Regions from separate parts of the Homo sapiens genome. Here region 2 is linked to region 1. The links are contacts of gene promoters, found by promoter capture Hi-C in blood cells and fetal thymus (Javierre and others, 2016). All regions are on one chromosome and are shown on one strand. Each heading gives the region's core, a stretch centred on a gene start or on the middle of the fragment in contact. The rest is flanking DNA. Distances are from core to core; before and after follow the strand shown. Region 1 holds the start of STIM2 (stromal interaction molecule 2). Region 2 overlaps RBPJ (recombination signal binding protein for immunoglobulin kappa J region).

Region 1 (3,914 bases), core at 321-2,820:
CCTAGCAGAATTATCTTCTCTGGTGGGCACTCAGCACTCTGGTGTGACTTCATCGCTGTGCCTTTCAGCAGGGGAAATATAATCTCCCGGTTGCCCTATAAAGAATTGCCACCTGAACACTATGCCCACAAGAAGTCTGCTGAGAAATAACTGTTGATAGATTGACTTAGCCTCAAAGACATCCTTGATTCTTTTCTAAAGTGTGCATCTGCCCTTCCACAATAAACGATATTTGTGGTTATCTTGGCCAGGCTACCTAAGAAATACTTTAGGAGAATGTAATTTGAGTATCTTCTTGGCTTGAGAAAGCAAGCAAACAAACCAATAAGCAGAATGAAACCAACAAAACCCAATAGCAAAAGGATCTTCGTGTTTAATAACCCTATCTGCAAATTTTAAACAATTTTGTGCCCCTGGGAGAAAGAATGCCTCCTTGCGTGTGAATTTCCAGGGCTTTTAATTTATAGTGACAGTACATTCAACACTTCCTTTTAAATTTGAAGGGAGGTGGCCTTAAAAATATGCTGGCAACTAGTTTGGATGAGAAAGATTCCGGTTCTTTATTTATTCAAACCAATTAGACCAGGTCTGAACAGGATTTACAACAGAGAGCAGATCTTGGGTGCACAAGAGCTTTGCTTCATTCCAGGTTGGCGAAAACAAGTCAAGTCTACATCATTGTTCTGTCAGCCGGTTCAGGATACAGCACAGAGTCGATGGGATGGGGGTGGGAAGGTGATGAGTTCAGGTAAATGTACCTAGGAGAGTCAGAGGCTAAAGTAAATTCTCTTAAATAGGCCTTTTCAGTGGCTGCTAAATCTCGCTCATTTCCCATGAATTAGCTGTGGGATATTGGGGACAACTTACTTCACATTTCTAGGTCTTAGTCTCTTCATTCGTAAAAGGGGGTAACGATAATTTTGGAGTTATAGCATGTAAATGTGTAAAACGGTTAGAGCAATGCCTGGTACACTCACACATAGCACGCGCTTTGTGAAATGTTTGGCAAGTAAATAAAACGCTAAGCTATGCTAACCGCGTCTAAACAGCCAGCCACTTGTAAGCCCCACCTATATTGAAATTACGGGGACGCTGCTGTTTTCCGATTGCAAGATTTTCCTGATCCATGCAATTACTTTCGCTGCCCTCTACGAGGCTGAAACTCGCCCTCAGGATGTGGGACGTCTGGACTCTTCTCTCCGTCCCCTTGTAGCCCCCCACTCCCCCTCGCGGTGGTACCGTGAATGAGGGAGAGGTACACGTCCCCCTTCTTCCCCGCCTCCTATCTTCGCGGCTCGCTAAAGCGTTATCAGCCGCCCCACGGTACTACCGTCCGTCTAGGAACGCCTCCGGGGCGGGGCTGGGATGCCGCGCACGCGCAGTACAGCAGCGCCGCGCCTGCGCCGTGGAGAGCCTGAGGGAGGCGGGGGATTGGTATGCGAGCGAATGTGCGAGGGGAGGGAGGCGTCCCGGCGGAGCGTGGTACTACGACCAGCGCGGGCCGGAGGGGGCGGGGGGATGCGCCGCGGCGGCGGCGGCGCGGGAGCTGGGGTTGGTGTTTGGCGGCGCCAGAGCAGCGGATCCCGGTCTCGCCGCAGCAGCAGCGCGGGTGTCGTGCACCGCCTGAAGACGCCGTACCTTTCTACCCCCCACCTTTTTTTTTTTTTTTTTTAAATAACCGGAACCAATGAACGCAGCCGGGATCAGAGCTCCGGAGGCCGCCGGTGCCGATGGGACCAGGCTGGCGCCCGGCGGGAGCCCGTGTCTGAGGCGGCGGGGGCGGCCGGAGGAGTCGCCGGCGGCGGTGGTGGCGCCTCGCGGAGCCGGCGAGCTGCAGGCGGCCGGGGCGCCGCTGCGCTTTCACCCGGCTTCTCCTCGGCGCCTTCATCCCGCCTCGACTCCTGGCCCAGCGTGGGGCTGGCTGCTGCGGCGGCGGCGCTGGGCTGCGTTGCTGGTGCTCGGGCTGCTGGTAGCCGGAGCGGCGGACGGATGCGAGCTTGTGCCCCGGCACCTCCGCGGGCGGCGGGCGACTGGCTCTGCCGCAACTGCCGCCTCCTCTCCCGCCGCGGCGGCCGGCGATAGCCCGGCGCTCATGACAGGTGAGGGGCCGGGGGGCGGCGGGCGGGGCTCGGCCGGCAGCGATGGGACCCCCAACCCGTGCAGAGGTCAGCATCTCCGCCGGACGTCCGCTATTCCGCGGCTCCGGCCAGGGCGCGATGCGGAGCCCTGCCTGCTGCTTCGTCGCGGTCCCCTGCACTCCGGACGTCTTTCCTTTTCACCCCGACACCCCGCCCTCGCCGAGCCTCTCGACGGCACTGATTCCCCTCCCTTCAGTCGGGCTCTCCGATCTTCCAAGCTGAGCAATGCGGTGGTTTCTCTTTCGTGCTGCAGAAGTGCCAGCAGGGTCTGCAGGGGACTGGGCTGATTTTTTTTTTTTTTTTTTTTTTGAGGCTGCTAGAAAAAGTCAGCAGCAGCATTGCGGTATTGAGTCTACCTCTGGTGCTGCTTTTGCAAAGGCAGCTGGCAGCGAGTCTCACCGGTTCAAAGCTCCGCTTGAGCACAGCGTCCCAGGGGAGCCTGCTAAAGGGGATTCTTTGAGAGCCATAATACCTAGTGATATTAGTGGTTCCGTGTTAGTATGCAGAAATGCCTAAGTTTACAGTGCATTTTTTGCGGGGTGGAAGGAGGCCGTTTTAAGTGGTGATGGAAAGTGTTTGGTGGTGGGAGCATCACTGGGTGACAAAGGGTGTAGAAACCTCAGCAGGTAACCAGAAATTATACCTAAAATTTGCAAAGTGCAGCATACTCGGGGCTTGCAGCTGGCAGCACAGTTCTGATAGACTGCACTAGCACCTTTTTTTTAATATATAGAACGATCTCATAATTGAAAACTTGGAAACGTGTTTTGTAAGGTTAAGTGCAGAATTGTATCCTTTTTAAAGCCTTCCGGTGTTATGTACAACTGATCAGTTGTGGTTTAAGTAAAAGTTATTATATAAGGACCCTGAAATGATTTCTTTGGGAAAAGTAATGGAGCTAAAATAATGGTTTTTTTTTTTTTTTTTAGTATTTCACTTATTTTTAAAGTAGATCTGTAGATTTCCTACAATAATTGTAAGACTAAAAAGTTTAAAGTGGCAGAAGATGACCCGTGATTAATTTAACCAAAATGATAGTCCTGCGGGCGTCTGGAAGTTACTAACAGCTTCTCTGACAAGTGCTCAGGAACTGTATTCTTTAAAGCCAAGCAGTTTCTCTGATTTCTATGATAGGATATTTACTATTCTAGAGAGAAGAAGGATGTTGGTAAACTTTAAAAGCTTTGGAGGATGTAGAGTATAGAACATAATGGTCAGCATGTTTAACTTTACCCTGAAGCATATCAAGCCCTATTAAATGGAACTTGATACATCAAACCTACCAATTGGGTAACTGGGATAAAGTGATTATAGAATAATCAGTATTAGGAGCATAGTACAGTTTGAGTGAGAAGATAGGTCAGACAGCTTTATGCTTGAATAGTATTTATTCTCCAAATAAAAATGTGGCAAGTAACAGTATAGTGAAGAATAGTGATTATTAGGAAAGTTGATAAATAAGACTATAATTTGAAGATTTAATGCCTCATGCAGGAAGGGAAGGAGCAGGAATATTTAGGCTTCTAGAAGGTATAAGTGGTTCTAGGTTTCTCGAGCAGAAAAATGTGGTTAATACATAATTGGCTAATGCTCTGTGAAAAAGTAATTGGTAAAAAGGCAAGCAATTCAGAAAATTTAGTATTTATTGACTGCTAATAAGTATATTTTATACTGTGTAGATCACATCAAGAAAATTGGTCAGATGGAATTTTAATAAGCCATTTACAATCCCTTTTAAGACTTAAATTTCTCTATACTTATTTAAGGCATGGGGGA
Region 2 (4,182 bases), core at 162-2,661, 520 kb before region 1:
GCTACTTGGGAGGCTCAGGCAGGAGAATTGCTTGAACCCGGGATGCGGAGGTTGCAGTGAGGTGAGACCACGCCATTGCGCTCCAGCCTGGGTGACAGAGCAAGACTCCATCTAAAAAAAAAAAAGAACATTTCATTCATTCATTCAGCAAATACCTATTGAGTACATACTACTTACCAGTACTATATGCTAGTAGTAAAGACAAAATTTTAAAAGTAATTAACATTATGTTAGAAGGTGATGCATGCAACTGAGAAAAATAAAACAGGGAAAGGGTATAAAAGGTGGAATAAAAAGCAGGCAAGATGGTCAAGGAAGGCCTCACAGAGGTGATATCTGAGAAAGACGTGGAGGGAGGAAGAGATTCCTGTGGGTATGTGGGAGAACAGCATTCCACACAAAAGGAATAACACCTGCCAGGTTGGAGCAGAGTAGTAAGAGGAAGAACAGTAAGAGCTGAAGTCAAGGATAAAACGGTGGTCCAAAATGTGCAAGGTTTTAGACAAAGAGGAACTTAGTTTTTATTTTGAGATGAGTAGCTACTGCACGATCTTGAGAAGGATCTCTCAAGCAACTTTACTAAGAACAAGAGCAGAGCTAAAGAAAAGTTAAGAGGATTCTGCAACAATTCAAGGTAGAGATGATGCTGATAGTAAGAAATGCAGCATATTGGGGCCGGGCGGGGTAGCTCATGCCTGTAATCCCAGCACTTTGGGAGGCCGAGGTGGGTGGATAATGAGGTCAGAGGACTGAGACCATCTTGGCCAACATGGTGAAACCCCGTCTCTACTAAAAATATAATAAATTAGCTGGGCGTGGTGGCGGGCACCTGTAATCCCAGCTGCTTGGGAGGCTGAGGCAGGAGAATCGCTTGAACCCGGGAGGCGGAGGTTGCAGTGAGCTGAGATCACGCCACTGCACTCCAGCCTGGCAACAGAGTGAGACTCCGTCTCAAAAAAAAACAAAAGAAAAAAAAAAAAGAAAGAAAGGTAGCATGTGAAAGCCTTGAAATAAGTGTCATAAAGGAAAAAAATCATTTTAGATGTGCTAGTTTGAAATGCTTTTTAGACGCCCAAGAGGAAATGTCTTTTGAGACAGCTGGATATAAAGTTTGGAGTTTAGAAAAGAGGTCAAGGCTGGGAATAAAAATTTGGGAGTCATCAACATATTAATAGTAGTTAAAGCCATAATCATCAAGATCTGTGTTGGTGGCAACGTAATGCTAAAACCCAGGGGCTACATTCTGGACACTCCAAAGTTTAAATGTGGTGAAATGAGAAAACACTACAAAGGAGACTGAGAAAGAGGTGCCAGTGGGGTAGGAAGGAAAACAGGAGTGTAGTATCCTAGAAGTCAAATAAAGAAGATGGCTCAACAAGAAGGGAGTGATCCAGTCAGATAACATGTGGTAAAAGACAGCTGACCACTGGCTGGCTGCGGTGGCTCATGCCTGTACTCCCAGCACTTTGGGAGGCTGAGGCAGGCAGATCACTTGAGGTCAGGAGTTCGAGACCAGCCTGTCAACATAGTGAAACCCTGTCTCTACTAAAAATACAAAAATTAGCTGGGCATGGTGCTATGCTCCTGTAATCTGAGCTACACGAGAGGCTGAGACAGAAGAATCACTTGTTACCTGGAGGTGGAGGTTGCAGTGAGCCGAGATTGCACCACTGCACTCCACCCTGGGTGACAGAGTGAGACTCCATCTCAAAACAAAACAAAACAAAACAAAAAAAAACCAAACGAAAACAAAACCAAACAAAACTGACCACTACATTTAGCTGCGTGGAGGGAACTGTTAAGTTTTGTTGAAGTGACGGAGACAAAAACCTAAATGGAGTGGGAGAGAAATTGGAGACAGAAAGAACCCTTCAGAGGTCTGTTGTAAAAGGATGCAAAGAAACAGGGAACTAGAAGGGATTGTGGGGTCCAAAGGAGAAATACCAGCACGTTTGTATGTTGTCAATAATGTTTCAGTAGAAAGGTAAAAATTGAGACAAGAGAGAAGAAAGTGTAGCTGGCTAGTCCAACATCCTAGAATAGCCAAGAAGGGATGGGACATAGTGCAAAACTAGGCTGCCCAAAGCAGAGTTCTCACAGTGGCTTGCAAAATTCAGCAGGCATCAGAGTCACCTGGAGGGCTTGCTGAAGCACAGATGGTTGGACCCCATCTCCAGAGTTTCTGACACAAAAGGTCTGCAGTGGAACTCCAAGAATTTGCGTTTCTAGCAAGTTCCCGGATGATTCTATTGCTGCTGGTCCAGAAACCTCATTTTGAGAACCACTGCTCTGTATCAAAAGGAGGGAAGACAGAAAAGATGAGTATATACATTAGTACAAATGCTGAACACCTGGGTTATCAAAAAAAAAAAAAAAAAAGGGAATGTGGTGTTTAGTAGCCAGGAGGTCTCTAGTTGCATTAGACCTTGCCATCGTTTGGTGAGGGAGGTAGTATTATCTTGTTTTACAGAAACTTAACCAAGTTTACCTGCTAGTTGGTGGGAGAAATGGAATTCAAACCTGTATCTCCAGATTTCAGTTCCATTGCTGCTTTGTAGTATGAACATCTGCTAGCGATAGTGTAATTTAGTATGTGGTGATCCTACTAGCATTTCCCCTCCTCATTCCTTTCTCCCATGCGTGGTTAACTTAGTCATCTGACAACACATGATTGAGTGTGCTCACTAACCAGACAAGCCTCTCAGTCCAGGCAGATTATAGATCTGAGGCAGGAGAGTAAAGTTGAACAGGGAATAGGTTTATGTGGAATTTTTTTTGTCTCCCTGTTTCACTATACAATTTTGGAAGAAGGGTTTGTGCAAAAAACACAGGTTGCTAGTCATGAAACACATTCTGTTCACCACTAATTAATTTGGGTAGTATCTCTGCTTCACTTTTCTTCAGTGTAATGGTATCTCTGACATGCTAGGGAGCTTAGGAAAATGGTTCTAGCATTATATAAATGACAGGTATTGCTATTAGCAATGACTCAAGATTCTCATGTTTTTTGGTATTCTACATGTCATCCATTCTTTCTATTATACTGGAGTACTTTTGTTTTATGTAAAACTGTTGTATAAATGTCATTTTAAAGTCTCTGCTGTCAAATTTTGTTGTTATTCTAAGACAGCAGCTGTGGATGTGGCTTAAAAACTGATGAGTTTCTACAATGATGAGCCTTTATGGAGCAATGAAAGGCTGCTTGTAAATTGTAGCCACACTTGCAATGAATTCTGTGTTTGTTATTGTGAATCCCTAAGGGTGACTGTTTTTTCAGCAGGGCGAGTTAGGACGGCACAAACTGAGAGTTTCTGTTCTGGTAATCTTTACTTCTTATGACTTTAAGGAATTTGGAATATTTTTGCTTGACTGTTGTAATGAATCTCTAAACATATTATTTGGATATGTGGGCAGATAAATTGTAAGATATGTTATAGACGTGGTTTCTGTCATCAAATATTTTTGCTCACAGTAGCTACTGTGTGTAATAGCATTTATAGATGATGCTTTACCTCTAGTTACTGCCTAAAGATATAAATATTGGGTTATTTGAAGCTACATATTTCCAGCTTATACATATGAATAGTTTAAGGCATAGTGTATGTACCCACTTTTATTTCAGAAAAATACAGGTTGTTTGTTTGTTTATTGTTTTTTTTTTGAGATAGAATCTCGCGCTGTTGCCTAGGCTGGAGTGCAGTGGTGTGATCTCAGCTCACTGCAACTGCCACCTCCTGGGTTCAAACGATTCTTGTGCCTCAGCCTCCTGAGTACCTGGGATTACAGGTGTGTGTCACCATGCCTGGCTAATTTTTTTGTACTTCTTTCTTTCTTCTTTTTTTTTTTTTTTTTTTTTTTTTTTTGTGACGGAGGTTTGCTCTTCTTGCCCAGACTGGAGTGCAATAGTGTGGTCTCGGCTCACTGCAACCTCCACCTCCTGGGCTCAAGTGATTCTGCTGCCTCAGCCTCCCAGCTAGGTGGGATTACAGGCGCCCGCCACCACACTCGGCTAATTTTTGTATTTTTAGTAGGGAGAGGGTTTCACCATGTTGGCCAGGCTGGTCTTGAATTCCTGGCCTCAAGTGATCCACCTGCCTTGGCCTCCCAAAGTGCTGGGATTACAGGCCTGAGCCACTGCCCCCAGCCTGTACTTCTTTTTAGTAGAGATGGCATTTTGCCATG

The links. The method cuts DNA at HindIII sites, captures the fragments that hold promoters and counts their contacts. A CHiCAGO score of 5 or more calls a contact.
Region 2: a contact is called between a fragment that was not itself captured here and the fragment with the promoter of STIM2 in region 1, in 1 of 17 cell types (neutrophils). The highest score is 5.7, in neutrophils.

The regions. Positions count from the first base shown.
Region 1 is chr4:26,859,271-26,863,184 of GRCh38, forward strand. It overlaps STIM2 (stromal interaction molecule 2), which reads left to right and starts at 1,571. Exons shown (of 12, transcript NM_020860.4): 1 at 1,571-2,099. The coding sequence starts at 1,949. It overlaps STIM2-AS1 (STIM2 antisense RNA 1), which reads right to left and starts at 1,329. Exons shown (of 2, transcript NR_134674.1): 1 at 1,240-1,329; 2 at 354-758. RefSeq lists an enhancer at 1,128-1,227 and silencers at 1,318-1,687, 1,698-2,267. The HindIII fragment of the contact is 3,345 bases long and covers 1-3,318 here.
Region 2 is chr4:26,339,905-26,344,086 of GRCh38, forward strand. The region is part of intron 1 of RBPJ (recombination signal binding protein for immunoglobulin kappa J region); the gene reads left to right. Among named protein-coding and RNA genes, the nearest start is that of RBPJ, 21 kb to the left of the region's middle. The HindIII fragment of the contact is 9,248 bases long and covers 1-4,182 here.